2 separate regions of the Homo sapiens genome follow, and region 2 is linked to region 1. The links are contacts of gene promoters, found by promoter capture Hi-C in human tissues and cell types (Jung and others, 2019). All regions are on one chromosome and are shown on one strand. The core of a region is centred on a gene start or on the middle of the fragment in contact, and the rest is flanking DNA. Distances in the headings are between cores, read along the strand shown.

What was found. The method cuts DNA at HindIII sites, captures the fragments that hold promoters and counts their contacts. A contact is called where the count stands out against the background at its distance.
Region 2: a contact is called between a fragment that was not itself captured here and the fragment with the promoter of KCTD4 in region 1, in 6 of the 25 tissues and cell types used here (H1 embryonic stem cells, IMR-90 fibroblasts, dorsolateral prefrontal cortex and 3 more).

The regions. Positions count from the first base shown.
Region 1 is chr13:45,197,962-45,204,746 of GRCh38, reverse strand. It overlaps KCTD4 (potassium channel tetramerization domain containing 4), which reads left to right and starts at 3,702. Exons shown (of 2, transcript NM_198404.3): 1 at 3,702-3,923. All of the region lies in intron 4 of GTF2F2 (general transcription factor IIF subunit 2), which reads right to left. The HindIII fragment of the contact is 9,631 bases long and covers 1-6,785 here.
Region 2 is chr13:45,122,492-45,129,276 of GRCh38, reverse strand. The region is part of intron 1 of GTF2F2 (general transcription factor IIF subunit 2); the gene reads right to left. It also overlaps the pseudogene RN7SKP4. Among named protein-coding and RNA genes, the nearest start is that of GTF2F2, 5.4 kb to the right of the region's middle. RefSeq lists a silencer at 5,346-5,539. The HindIII fragment of the contact is 3,307 bases long and covers 3,338-6,644 here.

The DNA of each region.
Region 1 (6,785 bases), core at 2,453-4,952:
CACTTCCTTTCTCCCCTTCTCTTCTTAAATACATTTTTAAAAGGCCAATTTACTCCTGATGCAGCCCCCTAGGCATGATTTGCCTGCTCTCTTTTTAAAGCCTCATAGGAACACATTCTCATATTCTTTCCACTAAACCACACTTCTTGTCTTTTTCAAAATACTGCTTAAGATTTCAAAGGAAAGGTATTAAATTTTATTTTAAAAGTATTTAAAAGCACCCACTTGCACATTACTGCTGTTAATTATAGATCCTATTCATTAATATAGAAACCTTTACTTAAAGCTAGTTTGTTGACCCAGTTTAAAAGACCATAAATACTTGAAAAATAATTCATTTTATTCTCACACATTTCTTAACTATTTACTGAGTGCCTACTATGTAAAAGACAATGCAAGAGCACATCAGGAATAACAAATGAAACACGGCTCCTACCCTCAAGGAGCGTAGACTTTCTTAAACGTTCTGTGGCATGTATTAGTTAAAAAGTATAGATATGAATAGCTTGATTTAGCCATTCCACACATATACATATATCAAAACATCACGTTATATACCATAAATATACACAAATTTTACTTGTCAATTAAAAATAAGCTTAAAAAACCTAAATTTAAATGTTTTTAAAAGGAAAAATGTATAGACTCCCAAAAAACCTGTTTATAAGTTTTAACTGCTGATATCTACCATATTAGAAACTAAAATTAAGAAATTTCTAGAGAATGAGAGTGAAAAAATAAAAAAAAGCCATTAGCATTATTATAGAAATGGTCTTGACATCATTGATCCCTTGAAAGGATCTCGGGGACCCCTCTGCCCAGTGGTTCCCAGACCACATTTCGAGAGCTGCTGGTCTCGTAGGATAAGACAGGTACATAAATCATCTTAATACACCAGAAGCACTTTTGATACACCTCTACTTAACTCACCTCTAGATTAACAAAGGCTCTCAACTGCCTGCTATTAAATATAGCGACAGATGCCCACAGTCACTATATACTAGTGGGTAATAGGTTAATCTCTAGTACTCCCACACACGTCTGCTCAAACGATGCTAGAACTTGTCTATATTAGTTTTAATAATTATGTAATCTGATTATATATTACAGAAGCCCATTAAATTGCAAGTATGAGGGGAGTTTGGGGGGTGTTTCTATAAAAACTATGTAGAATGCTTTGGTAAGATGATATAAAGTTAAGTTGTAACACAATACTGTCAAATTAGGTACAGGTGAGACAACTGGAGACTGAAAGGGAAGCACAGGAGTCTAGAAAGAGTCTGCATTTAGATAGTTTCACAGTGTCTAAGTTCTTGCTCCTTTTCAAAGAAACCAAAATCGAAAATCTAAACTAAATCATGGGGCCAGGTGCAGTGGCTCACGCCTGTAATCCCAGAACTTTGGGAAGCCGAGGAGGGCAGATCACTTGAGGCCAGGAGTTTGAGACTAGCCCAGGCAACACAAGGAAACCGTCTCTCTACTAAAAATCCAAAAAAAAAAAAAAAAGGTGGGCGTGGTGGTGCATGCCTGTAGTCCTAGCTATTTGGGAGGCTAAGGCATGAGAATTGTTTGAACTCTGTAGGTAGAGGTTGCAATGAGCTGAGATCACATCACTGCACTCCAGCCTGGGCGACAGAATGAGACTGAAAAACTAAATGATGGGTTTAATTTTTGAAAAACAAAGAAAACAGATGGTCAGTCAGTATCCTATATTCAAAGCAAAGGCCTTGTCTTACATATACATCAGCAACTAAATGTACATTTATTTTATTTTATTTTATTTCTGAGATGATGTCTCACTCTGTCACCCAGGCTGGAGTAGCTGGAGTACAGTGGTGCAATCTCAACTCACTGAAACCTCCGCCTCCCAGGTTCAAGCAATTCTCATGCCTCAGCCACCTGAGGTGCTGGGATTACAGGCGTGCGCCACCATGCCCAGCTAATTTTTGTATTTTTAGTACAGCCAGGGTTTCACCATGGTAACCAGGCAGGTCTTGAACCCCTGACCTCACGTGATCTGCCCACCTCGGCCTCCCAAAGTGCTGGGATTACAGGCGTGAGCCACCGTGCCCAGCCAACTAAACGTACATTTATAAGTTTTAAGATAAAATGTTTAAGGCAGATAGGAACTGCATATTGATATCATTTTTATGATTTCCCATCTTTTAATGTAACTGACCAATTACTGGTTATTCCATATGTGCTGTAGGATTCTTCTGTCAAGTTGAATATGTTAAAGGTCATAAAATAGAAACATACAAGAGTACTGGGATTAAACACACATGTACTTGCACACACACACACACCCACTCAGATGTCTAGCTAGAGATCAAGAAGAGTTTTTTGTTTTGTTTTGTTTTGAGATGGAGTCTCGCTCTGTTGCCTAGACTGGAGTGCAGTGGCGCGATCTTGGCTCACCGCAACCTCCGCCTCCTGGGTTCAAGCGATTCTCCTGCCTCTGCCTCCTGGGTAGCTGGGATTACAGGTATGTGCCACTGCGCCAGGCTAATTTTTGTATTTTTAGTGGAGATGGGGTTTTGCCATGTTGGCCAGGCTGGTCTTGAACTCCTGACCTCTGGTGATCCGCCCACCTCAGCCTCCCAAAGTGCTAGGATTACAGGTGTGAGCCACCACGCCAGGCCAAGAAGAGTTTTGAAGAATAAGCAATGATTGTGCTGGACCTTGAAAAATGGGTAGGATTTAGACTGGGGTGGGTGGGGGTAAGAAGGAAGAGTACTGAAGGTGGTAGGAATGGCCTCTGTGTGTCTGTGCTTGCTCGCTCTTGTGCTTGAAATGTTCAACTAAGGGGCTCACACCACCAATTACTAGAAGGACATGGTCTTGCCAGCACTCTGCAGAGAAGCCACACAAACTCATCCTACCAAAGGCTTTGGAATGGCTCAATTCATATCTTTTCCTTGGCCATTTGCTCTTCTTTGGATTCTGGGAAATAGTATGGGATTCTTTCTAAATTCTCCCCCGCACTCCTTTTTTGGCTAGATTGGTTTGTTGACTGGTTTCTGCTACTTGCAACCAAAAGAATCTTATTGAGTATGAACACACATCTTTGATGATGGTAATTTATGTATATCCCACCACCTAAAATCAGAAAAAACTCGAGAGAAAATTTTAAAGGTTATGTATATAAAGCACATCCTATAAAAAGAACTGAAGGCTTCTAGTTAAGATTCTGTCACTAAACAGCAGTGTTACTTTGGAGAAGTTATTTTACATCTCTGGGCCTCAGCATCCATAATAATGATATTACTAGAATGTCTGAGATCTCTTCTAGGTCTCTTTCACTAAATAAAAATGCTAGCCTTCCTCTCCAACTGGGGATGTTTTATTATTTCATTAGTGTTATTTTGTTTGCTCTAGTACTTTCCAAAAGACCTAGATATAATTAAATTTTCTTTGAATAGAAAGAGAATAACAAAATGTTAAGAAGCTGCCCAAGGCTTGAAAATATTTAAATTTGTGCTCTATGCTGGATTATCCTGCCCTATATCTGAACTTGACATACACTCTATGTCAAAGAACTGAGGAGAAATGATACTGGCACTTTTTTTAAAAAGTTAAGGGCATCCCTAGTTTGAAGAAGTTAAAGGAATAAGCAAGCAGCAACACTGCTTATTAGCATTGGCATGTAAGTAATGAAATCAAGTATGTTAGGAAGTCTTAGGCATCAGGAAGTTACACTCATTCATTTCCACAAGACCTTCTGGATCCAGCTGAATGTGGAGGCCTTTAAGAGAACTTCCAGCTCCTGTAAAAACCCAGACCAGAGGACTACTGACCAACATTTCAGGCTGATCCTCCAGACCTCGAAGTTACTCTCCTTACTCTCCTGACTCTTAATTACATCACACCTGTGTCGACACTCTCTGGGAAAAGACTGAAGAAATAATCTTTTCAAGAAGCAGGTACATTTAAAAGGCAAACCATTTTTAATATTCCTAGTAGTCTCCTTTCTTCTCATTTAAAATATGTTCCTAGAAGTTTTTTTGCCTGTGGTTCTGAGTTGAGGTCTACTAATAAAAGGTACTAGCATCTTAACAAACCAGTTAGGCAAACTTTCTATCCCTGTATTATTAAAAAGCTGCTCTTTACTTGTGAAGTAATATTCTGATCTCTATTTGATCTTCAGGAATTTTGCCACGCATGGTGGCTCACATCTGTAATCCCAACACTTTGGGAGGCTGAGGCAGCAGCATAGCTTGAGCCCAGCCTGGGCAACAAAGTGAGACCCAGTCTCCACAAAAAGATAAAAAAGTTAGCCAGGTATGGTGGGGTATGCCTGTGGCCCCAACTATACGGGAGTTTCCTAAGGCAGGAAGATCACCTGAGCCCAGGAGGTTGAGGTTGCAATACACTCCAGCCTGGGTGACAGAGCAAGACCCTGTATCAAAAAATAAAATTTAATTTTATAAAAGTTATAAAATAATTTGCCTAATTTTAACATCAAGCAGCCACATTGTTTTGTCTCTCCCTCTCTCTCTCATCTCCCTGCAAAATTCTTTCCCTCCTCCCTGTCTGTTAATTTTACTTTCTTGTGATACGGAGGGAATAGCTCACAGAGCTGCTCAAATATTTCATCAACTATAAGATGCTATCATTTGTAATAGCAACCATTATTTTACGTGCCACCAAGACAAAATACTGCTGCTAAACTTTGACAAGCTAACGATATTAAGATGTACCTCAGTTATAGAAATGGTAAATATGAAAAAAATGTGTGATATGATAGAGTTCTCCATCCCTAGTTTATAACTCCTCCCTACTCTGTAAGAAACCACATTTGCTCCCTTGAGCCATCACATCCTGTTCTCCTGTTCAGATCCTCTTCTCTCTTCTCCACACCACCTCATCACTGAAGACACAAGCAGATGTTAAGTGATGAGAAAATCAGAAGGAACAGTGGCAGGCGCTAGTATACGGTAACAGAGACCCTCTTTAGTCATTTACTTCCTAACTGTACTACCTTTACAAGAGTTTTCAAAGTTATGCCCTTCATTTTGAGATTGTAGATAATGGTTATTAGCTTAAAATATCTTCTTCCCAAAGAGAAAGTAAAATTGCATTTTGCCAAATAGCACTATAAAAATGAGTTCTGTACAATATTATAATTTTAATGTTCATTTGATGGCTTACATAAGTGCTATGCTCATCTGGTTACAATAGAATTTTCCAGTAAATAATAACGCACAGGTTATATTTCAAAAAAAAACTTCATTTTTAAAAAACTTAAGGTATGACTTCTGCTTACAAAATTATAAAACACAGGTTTCCCTGAAATACTCATTTTCCAAAGTACATGTAAAACATGAATTAATATGACTTATAAATTGTCAAGATTGCCTCTGTAGTGAAAATCAAAGAAATGTGGAATGGAATTTCACCTGAACTTCTGAGCTAGTCTGTTGTCTTTATTTGTGCTCCTTTTGACACATAGTGCCTTATGTTTTTCTATACTCCTCAAATGAAGCTAAAACATTTACCAATGTAGGCAATTTTCCTGGGCTTCCTTGAAGACGCAGTTCAACACTGCAAAATATTTACAGCTGTATTCTTTGGACTGCAATGACATGTTCACACGACCTTGTGGCCAGAGGTTACGTCCTATTAGTCCTAGGAAGGTTCAAGTACTTGGCACAGTTTGTGAGATGCTGTGGTCAATCAGTTACATAAAGTGGCTGCCATAGTACTTTTGTTAGTGTAATACCAGTAGCAGACAACATTTAGAGCAGATAAATTTTATATTTCAAAATAGAACTAAAATTTGGACACTCAAAAAGAATTACATTAACATGGGAAAATCCTTGATTCTTAAAACATGTCAATAATTAGACAGTGTAATTTTTATTTTTAACACACAAAAGAAGCCAACACAAAATATTCATACCTCAATATCAAAATGAATGTTTCTTACATTCAGTGCTATTGACAAGAGGCAATGAAGCAAGTACATGTTAAAAAAAAAGAAACTCAGCTTGTGAAAGGCAGAGGAAGGTCAAAACACAGATCAATAAACAAAAAAACAAAAAAAAAATGTGGGCAAGTCCAAGGCAGAGATATACTGTCAGATTTAAGTAAAAAGTTGACAGCAGCTTCTCTAGCTTTTACTTTCTTTCTAAGGTAATGGGAATGAAATCCTTTTAAAAGACAAGCAGAGAAGCATGCAGCTGACAACAACCAAGATTTGATAGCAGGGGAGAATGTGGAGACAGAAGCTCCCTGTTCTTATCAAACGCAGCTTCTAAAACCATTCCTTTTCCTTGAAGAGTGTCTGAATTTTATAGAGGAATGATCTGTTAAGTCTAGGAGAATTATCATACTTTTTGTATCTTCCAGTCGGGAGGGATAACCTCCTGGTAAGGTTTCACTTCCTTCCATGGCATGGGAGTATCTCTGGCATATAAATGGAGCAAGTGTATATATTACAATGATGTCCTGCATCAATCACGGGATGACAAAGACCTCATTTCCCATAAGGAGTTGGTAAAAAGATGGGAATTCCTGCTGGAATGAGTTCTGCCTTATGCAGATGGTAGGACATTAGTATTACCTCATAGTGGAAGGTTCTGCCAGAGTTTAGTTAGGCATTGGACCCAATTAACTATAGGATATACTCATACTAAGGACCAGTTTAAATTCTCAAAGTTGGTTATATATGATTAAAGCTGTCTAAGACAGAGGTGATCTAACTCTAATAAAGAGTTAAGGTACTGAGTAGGAAACAGGACCCCAATCTTTCAAATTTTTATATGTTTTTGCCTGCAAAGGCA
Region 2 (6,785 bases), core at 3,742-6,241, 77 kb after region 1:
TGATCGTGCCACTGCACTCCAGCCTGGGTGACAGTGTAAGACTCTGTCATAAATAAATAGGAAGAGGACAAAATGCAAATAGTAGAGTAGGACATTTTCTAACCTACTACTTTGCCCTAACTGCTATACCCTGAAATGCTCTTAAAGAGAACACAAGAATGTTTGGAAGCTTTGGAACTCTTAAATGAGATCATACTTCTTCAACATATTAACCAGATCAGGATTTTCTGTGATCAAACTACTGGAGACTACGATTTAGGCCTTCAAACAAGAAAGCACTTCAAGGGAAAGTAACTATATATCATACATTAAGGCAAATTTAAGAATCAAATTCAGTACAACAAATTATACCTAATACAAGCAACTGCCAACTTAAAAACATTGTGTCGGGCATGGTGGCTCACACCTATAATCTCAGCACTTTGGAAGGCTGAAGAGGGAGGATCACTTGAGCCAGGAGTTCGAGACCACCCTGGGCAACATACGGGGACCCCATCTCTACAAAAAATTTAAAAATTATCTAGGCATATTAGTGCACACTTGTGATCCAAGGTACTTGGGAGGTTGAGGCAGAAGGATCGTTTGAGCCCAGGAGTTGGAGGCTACAGTGAGTCATGATCACATGCCACTGCACTCCAGCCTGGGTGACAGAGCGAGACTCTTTCTCAAAAAATAAAATAAAATAAAATAAATTTTATTTTTTTGAGACGGAGTCTCACTGTGTCACCCAGGCTGGAGTGCAATGGCATGATCTTGGCTCACTGCAACCTCCGCCCCCCAGGTGCAAGTGATTCTCTTGCCTCAGCCTCCCGAGTAGTTGGGATTATAGACGCCCGCCACCATGCCCAGCTAATTTTTGTATTTTTAGTAGAGATGGGGTTTCACCATATTGGTCAGGCTGGTCTCGAACTCCTGACCTCGTGATCTGCCCGCCTCGGCCTCCCAAAGTGCTGCAATTACAGGCGTGAGCCACTGTGCCCGGCCGCAAAAATAATTTTTTAAAAAGGCCAGGGGGGAGGCCGGGCACAGTGGCTCACACCTGTAATCCCAGCACTTTGGAAGGCTGAGGCAGGCGGATCACGAGGTCAGGAGATCAAGACCATCCTAGCTAACATGGTGAAACCCCATCTCTACTAAAAATACAAAAAATTAGCCGGGCATGGTGGCGGGCACCTGTAGTCTCAGCTACTCGGGAGGCTGAGGCAGAAGAATGGCGTGAATCCGGGAGGCAGAGCTTGCAGTGAGTCGAGATCGCGCCACTGCACTCCGGCCTGGGTGACAGAGCAAGACCCGTCTCAAAAAAAAAGAAAAAAAAAAAAAAAAAAAAAAAAAAAAAAAGGCCGGGGTGCCAGGCACAGTGGCTCATGCCTGTAATCCTAGCACTTTGGGAGGCTGAGGCGGGCAGATCACAAGGTCAGGAGTTCGAGTCCACCCTGGCCAACATGGCGAAACCCCGTCTCTACCAAAAATACAAAAATTAGCTGGGCGTGGTGGCAGGCGCCTGTAATCCCAGCTACTCGGGAGACTGAGACAGGAGAATCACTTGAACCCAGGAGGCGGAGGTTGTAGTGAGCCAAGATCGTGCTACTGCACGCCCAGCCTGGGCGACAAGAGCAAGATTCCGTCTCCAAAAAAAAACAAGGCCAGGGGTGGTGGCTCATGCCATAATCCCAACACTCTAGCACTTTGGAAGGCCAACGTGGGTAGACTGCTTGAGTCCAGGAATTTGAGATCAGCCTGGGCAACATGGTGAAACCCTGTCTCTACAAAAAAAAAAAAAAAAATTAGTTGGGCGTGGTGACACATGCCTATAGTCCCAGCTACTCAGGAGGCTGAGGCAGGAGGATCACTGCAGCCCAGGAGGCAGAGGTTGCAGTGAGCCGAATTCACAGCACTTCACTCCAGCCTGGGAGACAGAGTGAGACCCTGTCTCAAAAAGAAAGACCAAAAAAAAAAGCAGATTGTGCTCCATAAGTTAATGGACAAAAACAAGTTTGCAGCTCATATTGCACTGTCTTCATTATTATAATAAAACTGTAGATTCCCAGGTAAGCCCACCAGCTTATTTAATTCAAAGGTTCCTAAAATACTACACCCTTGCAATAAAAAATAATAATAATAGCACATTAATTATATATAACTCTCTACACCACGAACTTACAGAAATTGGCTTCCCAGAAGTCCCGGCCTATTAAGTCTCAAAAGAGGGAGGGAGAGGAAGAAAAAAATGACAGTATATATGGTTTCAAGGCTCCAAAACACCACTGTCAACATATCACTTACGATGTATCTGTGTTATTTCCACTATCTCACTCATTACTGAAAATCAGATGGAGACAAGGTAATAAGTACAACAGGGTATGGTTGCTTAGATTTCCCAATACCAGAGAAAGTGACAGAAAATAACTCACTACAGCATTATTTCCTCAAGGAAACCTCCCTTGACTTCCTAGACCAGGACAAGTCCCTTGCTATTCACATGCACAGAAACAATATTCCTTGCTTCAGTGTCCTTCTCTGAAAATAATTGTTTTCGTTAAGACCAATATTTGACTGATGTCTGTCTCCTATACTGGGCTATAAGTCGTAGTTTACACAGTATATATACCATGTCCGTTTTGTTCACTGTAACATACTTAGAGCCTAGCAATCACTGAAAGCTTGTGGGATGAATCAATCTGCCCACCCATTCACTCAAACTGGGCAGCATAAGAAAGTGGTTCTTGTCGCTGGGCACAGTGGCTTACGCCTGTAATCCCAGCAGTTTGGGAGGCCAAGGCAGGGGGATCACGAGGTCAGGAGTTTGAGACCATCCTGGCTAACATGGTGAAACCCCGTCTCTACTAAAAATACAAAAATTAGCCAGGAGTCGTGGTGCACGCCTGTAATCCCAGCTACTCAGGAGGCTGAGGCAGGAGAATCGCTTGAAGCCGGGAGGCGGAGCTTGCAGTGAGCCAAGATCACACCATTGCACTCCAGACTGGGCAACAGAACGAAACTCCATCTCAAAAAAAAAAAAAAAAAAAAAAAAGTCGTTCTTCCCTTTGAAGCCAAGGTGCTTCTTTGCCAACTTTGCTTCATCAAATATCTAGTTCCCCAACTGCTAGCCTCTAAAGCCCTGTTTCTCCCAGAAAATTAAAAGCACTGAAGTGGACATCATGATGTGACACCCAGATTCCCCCTTCAGCACTGAGGGCATTATTCCCACAGCTGCTGAGAGTGTGGCCAGCAGACAGCCCTCAGCTATTAGGCCTCTTTGAAATTGCCTCCACTAAAGAAAGACCCCTTGCTCAAGGTCACGCCCACTTACTGGGGCAAACCATATCCACTGACTGGCTGGGACAGGAGGACAGCTCTGGAGGGCTCCTGTGGAATCATCCTGGCTTTTCACTGAGACTGCCTTACATGCTCTACCCAATCTTGCTTAAATCCTTTTCCTTCCATACATGCTGATCCCAAGAGTACTCACTAATAAATCCCTGTCTCCATCTCAAAATCAGCTGCTCAGGGAACCCAATCTATGACATGCAGCATTTATTCCCATGTTTCCTTGAACTTCAAGATACAGAACTGACAAGACCAAAGACATAAAAATGAAGTCCCCACCTCACCTCTGAATCTCTAGGGAGATAACCCATTAAAGAGACACAAAGGGGGCTGGGCACAGTGGCTCACACCGGTAATCCCAGTACTTTGGAAGGCCGAGACGGGCAGATCACGAACGAGGTCAAGAGATTGAGACCATCCTGGCCAACACAGTGAAACCCCGTCTCTACTAAAAATACAAAAATTAGCTGGGTGTGGTGGCCCGCGCCTGTAGCCCCAGCTACTCGGGAGGCTGAGGCAGGAGAATCGCTTGAACCTGGAAGGTGGAGGTTGCAGTGAGCCAAGATTGCGCCACTGCACTCCAGCCTGGCAAAAGAGCGACACTCCGTCTCAAAAAAACAAAAACAAAAACAAAAACAAAAAAAAACAGAGAGACGCAAAGGGGAAAAAAAATTTCTATGGCAAAGCTTTTAGCCTAACAAATTTGAATCACTATTTCCATGCTTAGGCAAGATAATTAACCTCCCTAACCTTAAATTTTATCATCTGAAAAATACAGGTAATTAATACCTACTTTACCGGTTTGCTTTGCAAAATACTCGCTACACAAGAAATGTTAAGTTCCTTTTTCTCCTACTATCTGCAAGGCTTTAGGGTATCACCCATTCCAGTTTCATCTCTCCCTTGTATATAACTTTCTCTTTGGCCACCAATGTCCAAGCGCTTGCCTGTCTGTGAAAAAATGAAAGCTAGCCGGGAAGGGTGGCTCACATCTATAATCCCAGCACTTTGGGAGGCCAAGGTGGGTGGATCACTTGAAATCAGGAGTTCAAGACCACCTTGGCCAACATGGTGAAACCCTGTCTTGGCTGGGCACAGTGGCTCATGCCTGTAATCCCAGCACTTTGGGAGGCCAAGGCAGGCAGATCACGAGGTCAGCTGTTCAAGACCATCCTGGCCAACATGGTGAAACCCCATCTCTACTAAAGATACAAAAAATTAGGTGGGTGTGGTGGCACACACCTGTAATCCCAGCTATTCGGGAGGCTGAGGCAGGAGAATAGCTTGAACCCAGGAGGCAAAGGTTACAGTGCGCTGAGATTGTGCCATTGCACACCAGCCTGGGTGACCGGGTGAGACTCCATCTCAAAAACAAAAACAAACAAACAAACAAAATAAACCCCATCTCTACTAAAAATACAAAAATTAGCTGGGCATGGTGGTCAGGCTGGTCTCCAACTCCCAACCTCAGGTGATCCACCCGCCTCGGCCTCCCAAAGTGCTGCGATTACAGGCATGAGCCACCATGCCTGGCCGCAAAAATAATTTTTTAAAAAGGCCAGTGGGGAGGCCAGGTGCAGTGGCTCACGCCTGTAATCCCAGCACTTTGGGAGGCAGAGGCGGGTGGATCACAAGGTCAGGAGATCGAGACCATCCTGGCTAACACGGTGAAACCCCGTCTCTACTAAAAATACAAAAAATTAGCCGGGCGTGGTAGCAGGCACCTATAGTCCCAGCTACTCGGGAGGCTGAGGCAGGAGAATCGCTTGAACCCACGAGGTGGAGCTTGCAGTGAGCCGAGATCGCGCCACCTTAGATGCTGGGGCTGGCATTGCCCTCAACGACCACTTTGTCAAGTTCATTTCCTGGTAAGACAATGAATTTGGCTACAGCAACAGGGTGGGGGACCTCATGGCCCACATGGCCTCTAAGGAGTAAGACCCCTGGACCACCAGCCCCAGTGACAGAACAAGAGGAAGAGAGAGACCCTCAATGCTGGGGAGTCCCTGCCATACTCAGTCCCCAACCACACTAAGACTCTCCCCTCCTCACAGCTTCCATGCAGACCCCCTGAAGAGGGAGGGGCCTAGGGAGCCCTGCCTTGTCATGTGCCATCAATAAAGTCCCCTGTGCTCAGCCAAAAAAAAAAAAAAAAAAATTCAAAATTCCAGAAATAGCACTTCATTAGGCCAGAACAGTACAGGTCCTGGATATTTTGTTATTTTGGTAAACAATCTACTACTATATTTGTTTTTCCCTAAACACACTATTTATCCCCAGTCCTGCCCGTAGGTTTTGGTTGTTTTTTTTTTTTTCTTTTTAGATAGGGTTTCACTCTGTAGCCCAGCCTGGAGTACAAGGGGTGTGATCTCAGCTCACTGCAGCCTCAACCTCCTAGGCTCAAGTGATCCTCCCACCTCAGCCTCTCAAGTAGCTGGGACTACAAGCGTACACCACCACGCCCAGCTAACTTTTTATAGTTTTTGTAGATAAAGGGTTTTGCTATATTGCCCAGGCTGGTCTCAAATTCCTGGGCTCAAGCAATTCGCCCACCTCGTCCTCCCAAAGTGCTGGGATTACAGACATCAGCCACTGCACCCGGCCTGCCATAAGCTCTTCTTGAAAGCTTCTTTGGAGGTTCTAGCAGGGGAGTACAACCATACATATACCCTTGACTGAAGACCAGTCCTCCTCTATCCGGATGGTCATCCTCTTTGGTCAAGCGTGCAGCTTCGGGAGGGACATACATGGAGCAGTGTGGGAGGAAGGAGACACCCGCCTAGCCAGCCAGATTAGCCAAATCAACCCTAGTAATCAATGGGGTGACAGATGTCCCAGACAGATCACACTCACATCCATTTTTTTTTTTTGAGACAGGATGTCACTCTGTCGCCCAGGCAGGAGTGCATGCAGTGGCACAATCTTGACTCACTGCAACCTCCAAATAGGCTTTTCTTAAACGTCACCTTCTTTATGATGTCTTCCCAGTTCTGGTGAAGCACTAATTTTTTTCCCGCTCAAAACTCTCAGAGATCTTGTATGTATAGTTCTTACTGTATTTACACAGTTCTATACCTGTCTAGTGATGGAATTAAATATGTACAAGATGATCTATAAACCGTGAGATATCCTAGGAAGAAACATTATTTAGCAACAAAGATCAGAACTCAAGGTATTATTTTTAATAGGAAAATTAATGTAAGGAGAAAAAACTTGAAATCAATATGTACTTCAATTCAAATTCTGATTAGATGAGAATGAAGATACACTTTCTAAGCAACAAATTACACTTTTTTTTAATTTATTTATTTTTTTGAGAAGGAATTTTTGCTCTGTTGCCCAGGCTGGAGTGCAACGGAGCAATCTCGGCTCACTGCAACCTCCGTCTCCCGGTTTCAAGTGATTCTTCTGCCTCAGCCTCCCAAGTAGCTGGGACTACAGGCGCACACCACCATGAC